Linked DNA regions of Homo sapiens: regions 1 and 2 are each linked to region 3. Evidence: promoter capture Hi-C in 16 types of primary human blood cells and fetal thymus (Javierre and others, 2016). All regions are on one chromosome and are shown on one strand. The core of a region is centred on a gene start or on the middle of the fragment in contact, and the rest is flanking DNA. Distances in the headings are between cores, read along the strand shown.

Region 1 (2,700 bases), core at 1-2,500, 150 kb after region 3:
ACCCGCCCACTCTGCTTTGAGTTGTCCTGCCTTTCTGAGCCAAACCAATGTATTTCTTAAATGTATTTGATTGATGTCTCATGCCTCCCTAAAATATATAAAACCAAGCGCTGTGCCCCGCTCACCTTGGGCACATGTTCTCGGGACCTCCTGAGGGTGTGTCACGGGCCATGGTCACTCATATTTGGCTCAGAATAAATCTCTTCAAATATTTTACAGAGTTTGACTCTTTTCATCAACAGTAGTTACTTCATTTTCTGAGTTCACATTGGACTGCCCCATGCCTGCTAAACACACACACACACACACACACAGACGCACGCAGAAGCACATGCACATATGCACACACGCACAAAGCGTTGTGAAGGAAAAGAAGGCAGTGATTCTGTTTCCTAAAGAAAACCGTGGTAATTATGAGACCAATTCCATCTGACTTCCATTCCGGGTGTCACTAAATAGCTTTGAGGACTGGGGCATGGAATAGAATGCAGAGGCCTTCTTTAAAGTGAGCTAAATTGACTGTAGCATTCCCCTCAAATTGGTGGGAGGTAAGAGGGCTTTCCAGAATGGAAATGGAAATGTTCCAAACTGCAGAAGTGCTTTTCTTTAGAAAAGACTGTTGGTAAGATTTCACAAAAGTTTATTAAAGATGATACACAGATGATACAAAGCTCTTTATTTCAGTCTGTACTTCTAAGCTTAAAAATCTAAGCAAAAAATCCAGTAGTTGGATTTCCAAGCCTATTTAAGAGGCTACAAAGTAGTCATTCCTATAACAGCCACAGATATATATATATAATTGTAATCCCAATTACAATAGGGTCATTTCTTAAATCTGTATATCATAAGCCTGCACAATAGAAATATTCAGAGCACAAACTTTGGGGCCAGATAGATCTGGACATGGAGCAAGCCTTTGCTACCAGTTAGCTGCAGCAAGACATGTTGCTTTGACATTTGACTCAGTTCTATTATCTGAAAAATGAAGGAAATAATGCCTGCTCTTTACTTTTCTTTGAGAGAATTAAGTATGTCACATAACATTGAGAGGGTTACCAACTTCTCCTAGTTTATCCTGGTTTATCCAGGGCCGATAAGTTTTGTTTGTTTGTTTTGTTTTGTTTTGAGACAGTCTCTCTCTGTCACAAGGCTGGAGTGCAGTGGCTCAATCTTTGCTCACTGCAACCTCTGCCTCCCAGGTTCAAGAGATTCTCCTGCCTCAGCCTCCCGAGTAGCTGGGACTACAGGCGTGCACCACACCTAGCTAATTTTTGTATTTTTAGTAGAGACGGGATTTCATCATGTTGGCCAGGCTGGTCTCGAACTCCTGACCTTGTGGTCCACCCGCATCAGCCTCCCAAAGTGCTGGAATTACAGGCGTGAGCCAGCCACCACGCCCGGCCCGCCAAAAAGTTTTAAAACTAAAAGTCCCACATCCCAGAAACCTACTCAGGCCCCAGCAAACCAGGACGGTTAGTCACCTCAATTATAGCTATTAACATTAATTTTATTTGTAAAAAGATGATGTCAGTCAAACAGCAAATTAAAATATAAAGCCTCATTATACTGAAACGATGACTACTGCTACTACTACTTCTAAATGGCAACAACAATAACTCTAAAAGTTGTGCTTCCAGATAAAGGACAAACTAAAGTTCTGTAACTCCCATGATATGGGCTCAAAAAGTTCCAAGCCGTAAACAAATCCACTTTCAAATAATGACACTGTATTTAAGTTAGCAAATTAAATAATTAGAACAACAATGCATTTTCTCAGAAATGTTTTATGAAAGAGAAGCTTTTGAATTTGAGACATTGCCGGAAAAGTACCCAACCAAAAGCAGTCGTGAGGATGTTTAAGAGGTTGGTAGTCGTTGCAATTGAGGACTAAACTCTGATTTTTTTATCTTGCCCAAATTCCTATCTAAGGGGCCTGGGGAGTCATAACCTACAAACCATAAATTCTCATCAGATAGGTTTTGTTTGACCCTGTATATTGTGTTTTACTTTCCAGTCTGACTCTGGCATAACAAGGAAGAAAATCAAAATGTTTTACCCCAAAATATATTTTCTTGACATATCTTGAAATTGCCCCACAGAGTCTCTTGTGGGAAAAATCCACATTCTATAGAGAATCCTTTTTCCTCTGTTTTCCTTCCTTCCTTCCCAGATCCAGGAGATAATCAACTAAGAGCCAGCCACCCCTATAAGTCTGTAAAAAATTTACAACCTGCTCTCTCTATAGTCTGCCATCTAAGAGCTTCCTCTACACAATAAAACTTGGTCTCCACAATCCTTTTTCTTAACCTGAACATTCCTTTCTGCAGATCCCAGGTCTTTAGACAAACTCAACCAGAAAATGTTTAAATTTACCTATAGCCTGGAAGCCCCCCACCCGCCACCTGCCCACTTTGCTTTGAGTTGTCCTGCCTTTTTAAACCAAACCAATGTGTTTCTTAAATGTATTTGACTGATGTCTCATGCCTCCCTAAAATATATAAAACCAAGCTGTGCCCCAACCACCTTGGGCACATACTCTCAGGATCTCCTGAGGGCTGTGTCATGGGCCATGGTCACTCATATTTGGTTCAGAATAAATCTCTTCAAATATTGTAGAGTTTGACTCTTTTCATCAACACAATCTAGTTACATCTCAAAAACCTTAGATTTCAAGCCCAAGCAAGAGAGAGAAAGAAGATG
Region 2 (2,700 bases), core at 124-2,623, 190 kb after region 3:
TCCTCCTTGCCTGAAAGGGTTTCCCCAAGGAAGGCTTGCCTGCTGAATCCCAAAGAACTGGCGGGCAGCATCTCCACTTTGCATCTTGCTCTGGCCCTTATTTTGTCTAATCCTCTCCCTACATCCTTCTGGTCCCTGTTTTCCAGTTTCTCTCTCCCTGGTGAGTCACGAGGAACGAGGCAAGGGCTTGAAGGATGCTAAAGTTGGAAGCCTCCTTCCTGTAACTGCCACAACATGTGAGGTTGGTGCTTTGGATGTAAAATATCTTGGAAGCAGCTCCTGTGCCAGCCAGACCTGGATTCATGCTCTGCCAAATTTTTGTTCTGAGTCCTAGTTCCAGTCCCTTTCCTCTCTGAGGCCAAGCACGTGAGCCTTGCAGGGTGCAGCCAGCCAGGAAGTCCCAGATTCAGTTCCTGGGTGCCATTCATGCAGTTAGATTTCTGGAAACCATAGTGACCACTAACAGTAAACCACGGGCACCACCATGCTCTCAACACTGCTGTGATTTTACCCAGTTGTTCTCTTCTTCCTGGAACTCTAGTTGTCTTAATTTCTCCATCTCAGAATTGCATTCCTCCCACTCGCCCACCCTGTCCTATCTTTGGCCTGATCTCTTGGCTATAAATCTGCTCCTTTCTTCCACTTGTTCTTCACAGCTCCCCATTTCTGCACTCCCCCTGCTTATCATTGTCTTCTGGGCCTCCCAGTAATCCCAGAACCTGGCCCAGGCCTGCACTGTGGGCAGATTCACTTTTGGGCCTCACATTCCCTCTGCGCCAGGAACAACAACTTCCCTCTGCAATGAGTACAACCACCTCTCTTTGATCATGGAGCTGGGAACTCTGGTCCTCATCAGACTCCCTTAGGGCTTATCCCTGAGACTCTAAGGCCATCACAGCCTTCATCCTCAGCCTGCACTACTGAATATCCCTCCCACAGTAATTATTTGCCTACATCCTTATCTCCCCAGGAAGACCATCAGTGCCTCAAGAGCAGGACCTCGTGTTAGCCATCACCTGGCTGTGAGCCCAGCGCAGGGCCTGGCACATAATTGGTACCCACAAAGTTTTAAAGACTTCATAGTGACTGCTTCACATCCATTTGGAAGAAGACAGGATTGAATTGGACACACCCACATGAACTAGCTATGTGACTTTAGCCGAGCCATCTCCACTGGTATTCCTCAGCTGGGAAACAAGGAGGGTGAAGCAGGCCTAGAAAATCTCTAAGGATCCTGTTCTGCTAAAAGTCTGTGACTCCGCATAGAGCACATTGTGCTTCTATTCAGCACAGTGACCCTCCAAATGGTAGTTTTATTTGTGAAGAACAATTATCCAGAGATTGGGATAATGCAGAAAAGATGATTAACGTTATGCTAGGAGCACTTCCCAACAAGCTCACCTAAAGGTGTTCTGGGGCTCCTACCCAGCATGACTTTACCCCCAGTGGACATGTGGAGATGTTTCAGCTGTAGAGGCCACACATGCTACTAAACATCCTACAGTGCCCACGACAGCACCCCCAACAAAGAATTATTTGGGCCCAAAATTTCCATAGTGCTGGAGGCATTGAGAGATCCTGGCCTAGAGCGTGCAACTTGGTTTGCACATTTGATTAGGGCCAAACAGTTTACAATTCTGAGAACTGATCATGCATGATGAGTTTCTTTTCTGTCTGATAGAGAAGAGAACCCCAAAGACTATGGGTTTGGGTTTTGTGGAATTTTTTTGTTTTTGTTTTGTCCTTTAGGATGTAACTAGTTTTGTATTTAATTTAGCAATCTTATCTCAGCTTTCCTTCTTTCCACCAACTATTTTTAAAAGTTTCTCATATTCCCTTTTGTTCTGAGCCATTTATTTATTTTGTTTTTAAATTAACTTTTTTTTTTTTTTTGAGACAGAGTCTCACTCTGTATCCCAGGCTGGAGTGCAGTGGTGCAATCTTGGCTCACTGCAACCTCTGCCTCCTGGGTCCCAGTTCAAGCAATTCTCTTGCCTCAGCCTCCTGAGTAGCTGGGATTACAGGCACACGCCACCATACCCAGCTAATTTTTGTATTTTTAGTAGAGACAGGGTTTCACCATGTTGGCCAGGCTGGTCTTGAACTTCTGACCTTGTGATCCGCCCACCTCAGCCTCCCAAAGTGCTGGGATTACAGGCGTGAGTCACTGTGCCCAGCCTAAATTAAACTTTTTATTTCAAAATCATCTATAGATTGTTGTAAGAAATCGTACAGAGTGATCTGTGTGCTCTTTTCTAATTTCCCCCAATGGTAACATCTTACAGAATTGTAGTACAAGATCCTATCCAGGGTACTGACATTGGTACAATCCACCCGTCCTATTTAGATTTCCCCAGGTTTAATTTGTACTCATTTGTATATTTGTACTTAATCCTATATGATTTTATTACATGTGCACTTTTACTTATCCACCACTGCAACCAAGATACAGAACAGCTCCATCACCACAAGGATTCTTCATGTCGCCCTTCTGTTAATCACATTCTCATATTCTCTTTTGAGCTGACTTTATCATCCAGCTGTGACCCTCATCAATGAGTTAAAAAGATAGTGATACCTGCTCACTATTTATTTGTATGATAATTAAGTTTTTAACATTTTGAGAAATATACTTTGATATAGTCCTCTGCTTTTTAATGAAACTACCTATTAAGTAGCAACTTGATAGCTGAGCTCCAA
Region 3 (2,700 bases), core at 78-2,577:
CTTTCTTTTTAATTAAAAAAAAATGCCCCAACTTATGTCTTGCAATGCCTGTAAATCATGTTTGTCTGCAAGTGAGACTGAAGTTTATAATATGCCAAGGACTACGGTAGCTCTGAAAGGCTCCCTCATACCACAGGCCAGAGAACCTCTCCGCCCTCCACTGGGTTTGTTGATTTTTAGAGGGAAGGATTTTAAGCAAACATACCTTCCCACAGATGAGCCCCTGGAAAGCACTCGGGCCGTTCATTTCCAGTTTCCTGGAAACTGTTTTCTCCCGTAGCTTGACTGTGATGCTCCTACCTGGCGGCCACATATGAAGACCCAGGGTGTGTGTAATGACAGACTGCCCATTTGGTTTAAACAGAAGCAAAACAGGTCCTTAGAGGGTTAGCGCCGGGCCCCTTCATTTCCCTTTCCGGCCTTAAACCTTCTGAACCATTCCTAGCCCCAGCTGTGGTTGTCCAACAAAGTAAATTGCAGCCCATACTCCCTAGGAAGATGACCCAACGTGACTCATAGTCTTCAAGTTACAAAGAGTTGGACGGATGCTTTGTGGGGGTTGTTATTCTCTCTCGCAGGCAGACGTGGCCACCAGCCCCAACAAAGGACACGTTGCACCGCCCTGGCCCAGGCCCAGGTCCATGTGATCAGCGAGGCCAGGGTTTTTCCCAGGTCCACTTCGGACGTACCCAAGCTCCTCATCCTACTCTCACTGCCGCCCTATCCCTCCCACCCTTCCCAAGGGGTCCCCCTGGGGCCAGAAATTATTGGGGGACTCCCTGTACTTCGGGGAGACCCACCGGGCCCATATCGCATGTCCGCTCCACGATGGCCTCCCATTTTGGTCTCCCCTCTGAGTTCCAAGACTCACTGCACGCATAACCAGGTCCTTCTTCACCTGTAAATAAAAAGCATGACACCCCGGCGCAGCAAGACACACGACACACAGCTGTACAGACAGACACCCCCAACAGCCAGACTGACGCCCTGCCCGTGGGGCGCGCGGCCAGGTCCCCTCCACCAGCGCGGCGGTCCCGGCTCGGCTCCCTCGGACTCACCAGGTCCACCACCTCCCTCTGCCGGAGCTGCGCCTTTTGCTTCCCCTTGGGGATCTCAGAGGCGCTCGACGGCGCGGGCAGCTGCAGCAGCAGGAGCAGCAGGAGGCCGCGGAGCCGCTGCGGGGAGGCGGCGGGGCCCTGGGGTCGCATGGCTCCCGGCTGCCGGGCAGCGCGGAGCTGGAGGCGGAGGAGACCGAGGAGAGGAACGTGGTCAGCGTCTGGCTCCGCCGCGCTCCGAGGCCGCCGCAGGCTGCATCAATGCGCCTTTCACCCGCGCGCCTCTCTCCCTCCCTTAATTCCTCCCGCCCCCGCGACACCCGGAGCTTCCATCCCGTAATAGGCCCCGAGCCCCCACCCCGAGCCCGGCGTGGGGGCGGACCGAGAGCCGGGCCCGCCCCCTCCTACTGCAGTCGCTCGGCCTGTCAGGACCCCCGCGGGGCTGCGCAGACCCTCGTGGAGAGCCCGCCTGCAGGGTCTGGGCGGGGTGGCCCGTGGTCAGGAGCCGCAGGTCGGGGATTCCCGCAGGTAACACAGCGCCGCCTAAATGAACATTTTAGAGACACGTGGCTTAACCTGGGTACACGAGCCACCTTCAAGGGTCGTCAATCTATGGCATGGGTCGGCGAGTCTTATTTGTTTTTTGTTTGTTTGTTTGTTTTTGAGACAGAGTCTCGCTCTGTCGCCCAGGCTGGAGTGCAGTGGCGCCATCTAGGCTCACTGCAAGCTCCGCCTCCCGGGTTCACGCCATTCTCCTGCCTCAGCCTCCAGAGCAGCTGGGACTGCAGGCACCCGCCACCACGCCCGGCTAATTTTTTTTTTTTTTTTTTTTTTTTTTTTTTTGAGACGGAGTCTCGCTCTGTCGCCCAGGCTGGAGTGCAGTGGCGCGATCTCGGCTCACTGCAAGCTCCGCTTCCCGGGTTCACGCCATTCTCCTGCCTCAGCCTCCCGAGTAGCTGGGACTACAGGCGCCCGCCATCACGCCCGGCTAATTTTTTGTATTTTTAGTAGAGACGGGGTTTCACCGTGTTAGCCAGGATGGTCTCGATCTCCTGACCTCGTGATCCACCCGCCTCGGCCTCCCAAAGTGCTGGGATTACAGGCGTGAGCCACCGCGCCCGGCCCCGGCTAATTTTTTATATTTTTAGTAGAGACGGGGTTTCACCGTGTTAGCCAGGATAGTCTAGATCTCCTGACCTTGTGATCCGCCCGCCTCGGCCTCCCAAAGTGCTGGGATTACAGGCGTGAGCCACCGCGCCCTGCCTTATTTGTTTTTTGGAGGTGACATTTTTGGAGGCTGGAAGGTGGGGGTGGGGCGGAGGCAGGAAGAAACCATAGGTATCATCAGGTTTTCCAAGAGTCCCATGACCCAAATGATATATAAACGCTGTTTTCATAAGTGCTAACACTTACTAAGCTCTGGCACATTGCAAAACCTTGCACGCGTACTCTGTCCTCTCAGCAATCCTGGCGGGTTGGGAGGGGTAGATGCCTCCTGGGCTACTCTCATAAACGAATGAGGAAACTGAGGCTCAGGGAAGTTAATCAATATCCAGTGGAAATGGTAGAAGTTCACTTTTGAGTACTCTTTGCCTCTGATGGATATTATCTTTTTGTAACCCCCTCTGTCCTCCTTTGGCCTGTC

The links. Contacts are between HindIII fragments. The CHiCAGO score rates a contact against its expected background, and 5 or more counts as called.
Region 1: a fragment that was not itself captured here is called in contact with the fragment with the promoter of CTHRC1 in region 3 in 1 of 17 cell types (M1 macrophages); the score reaches 5.1 in M1 macrophages.
Region 2: a contact is called between a fragment that was not itself captured here and the fragment with the promoter of CTHRC1 in region 3, in 1 of 17 cell types (megakaryocytes). The highest score is 5.0, in megakaryocytes.

The regions. Positions count from the first base shown.
Region 1 is chr8:103,221,730-103,224,429 of GRCh38, reverse strand. The region is part of intron 2 of BAALC (BAALC binder of MAP3K1 and KLF4); the gene reads right to left. Among named protein-coding and RNA genes, the nearest start is that of BAALC-AS1, 51 kb to the right of the region's middle. The HindIII fragment of the contact is 1,100 bases long and covers 701-1,800 here.
Region 2 is chr8:103,178,056-103,180,755 of GRCh38, reverse strand. The region is part of intron 1 of BAALC (BAALC binder of MAP3K1 and KLF4); the gene reads right to left. Among named protein-coding and RNA genes, the nearest start is that of BAALC-AS1, 7.3 kb to the right of the region's middle. The HindIII fragment of the contact is 6,749 bases long and covers 1-2,700 here.
Region 3 is chr8:103,370,165-103,372,864 of GRCh38, reverse strand. CTHRC1 (collagen triple helix repeat containing 1) reads right to left here and starts at 1,327. Exons shown (of 4, transcript NM_138455.4): 1 at 1,059-1,327. The coding sequence starts at 1,208. RefSeq lists enhancers at 79-872, 873-1,667 and a silencer at 1,324-1,443. The HindIII fragment of the contact is 4,990 bases long and covers 1-2,700 here.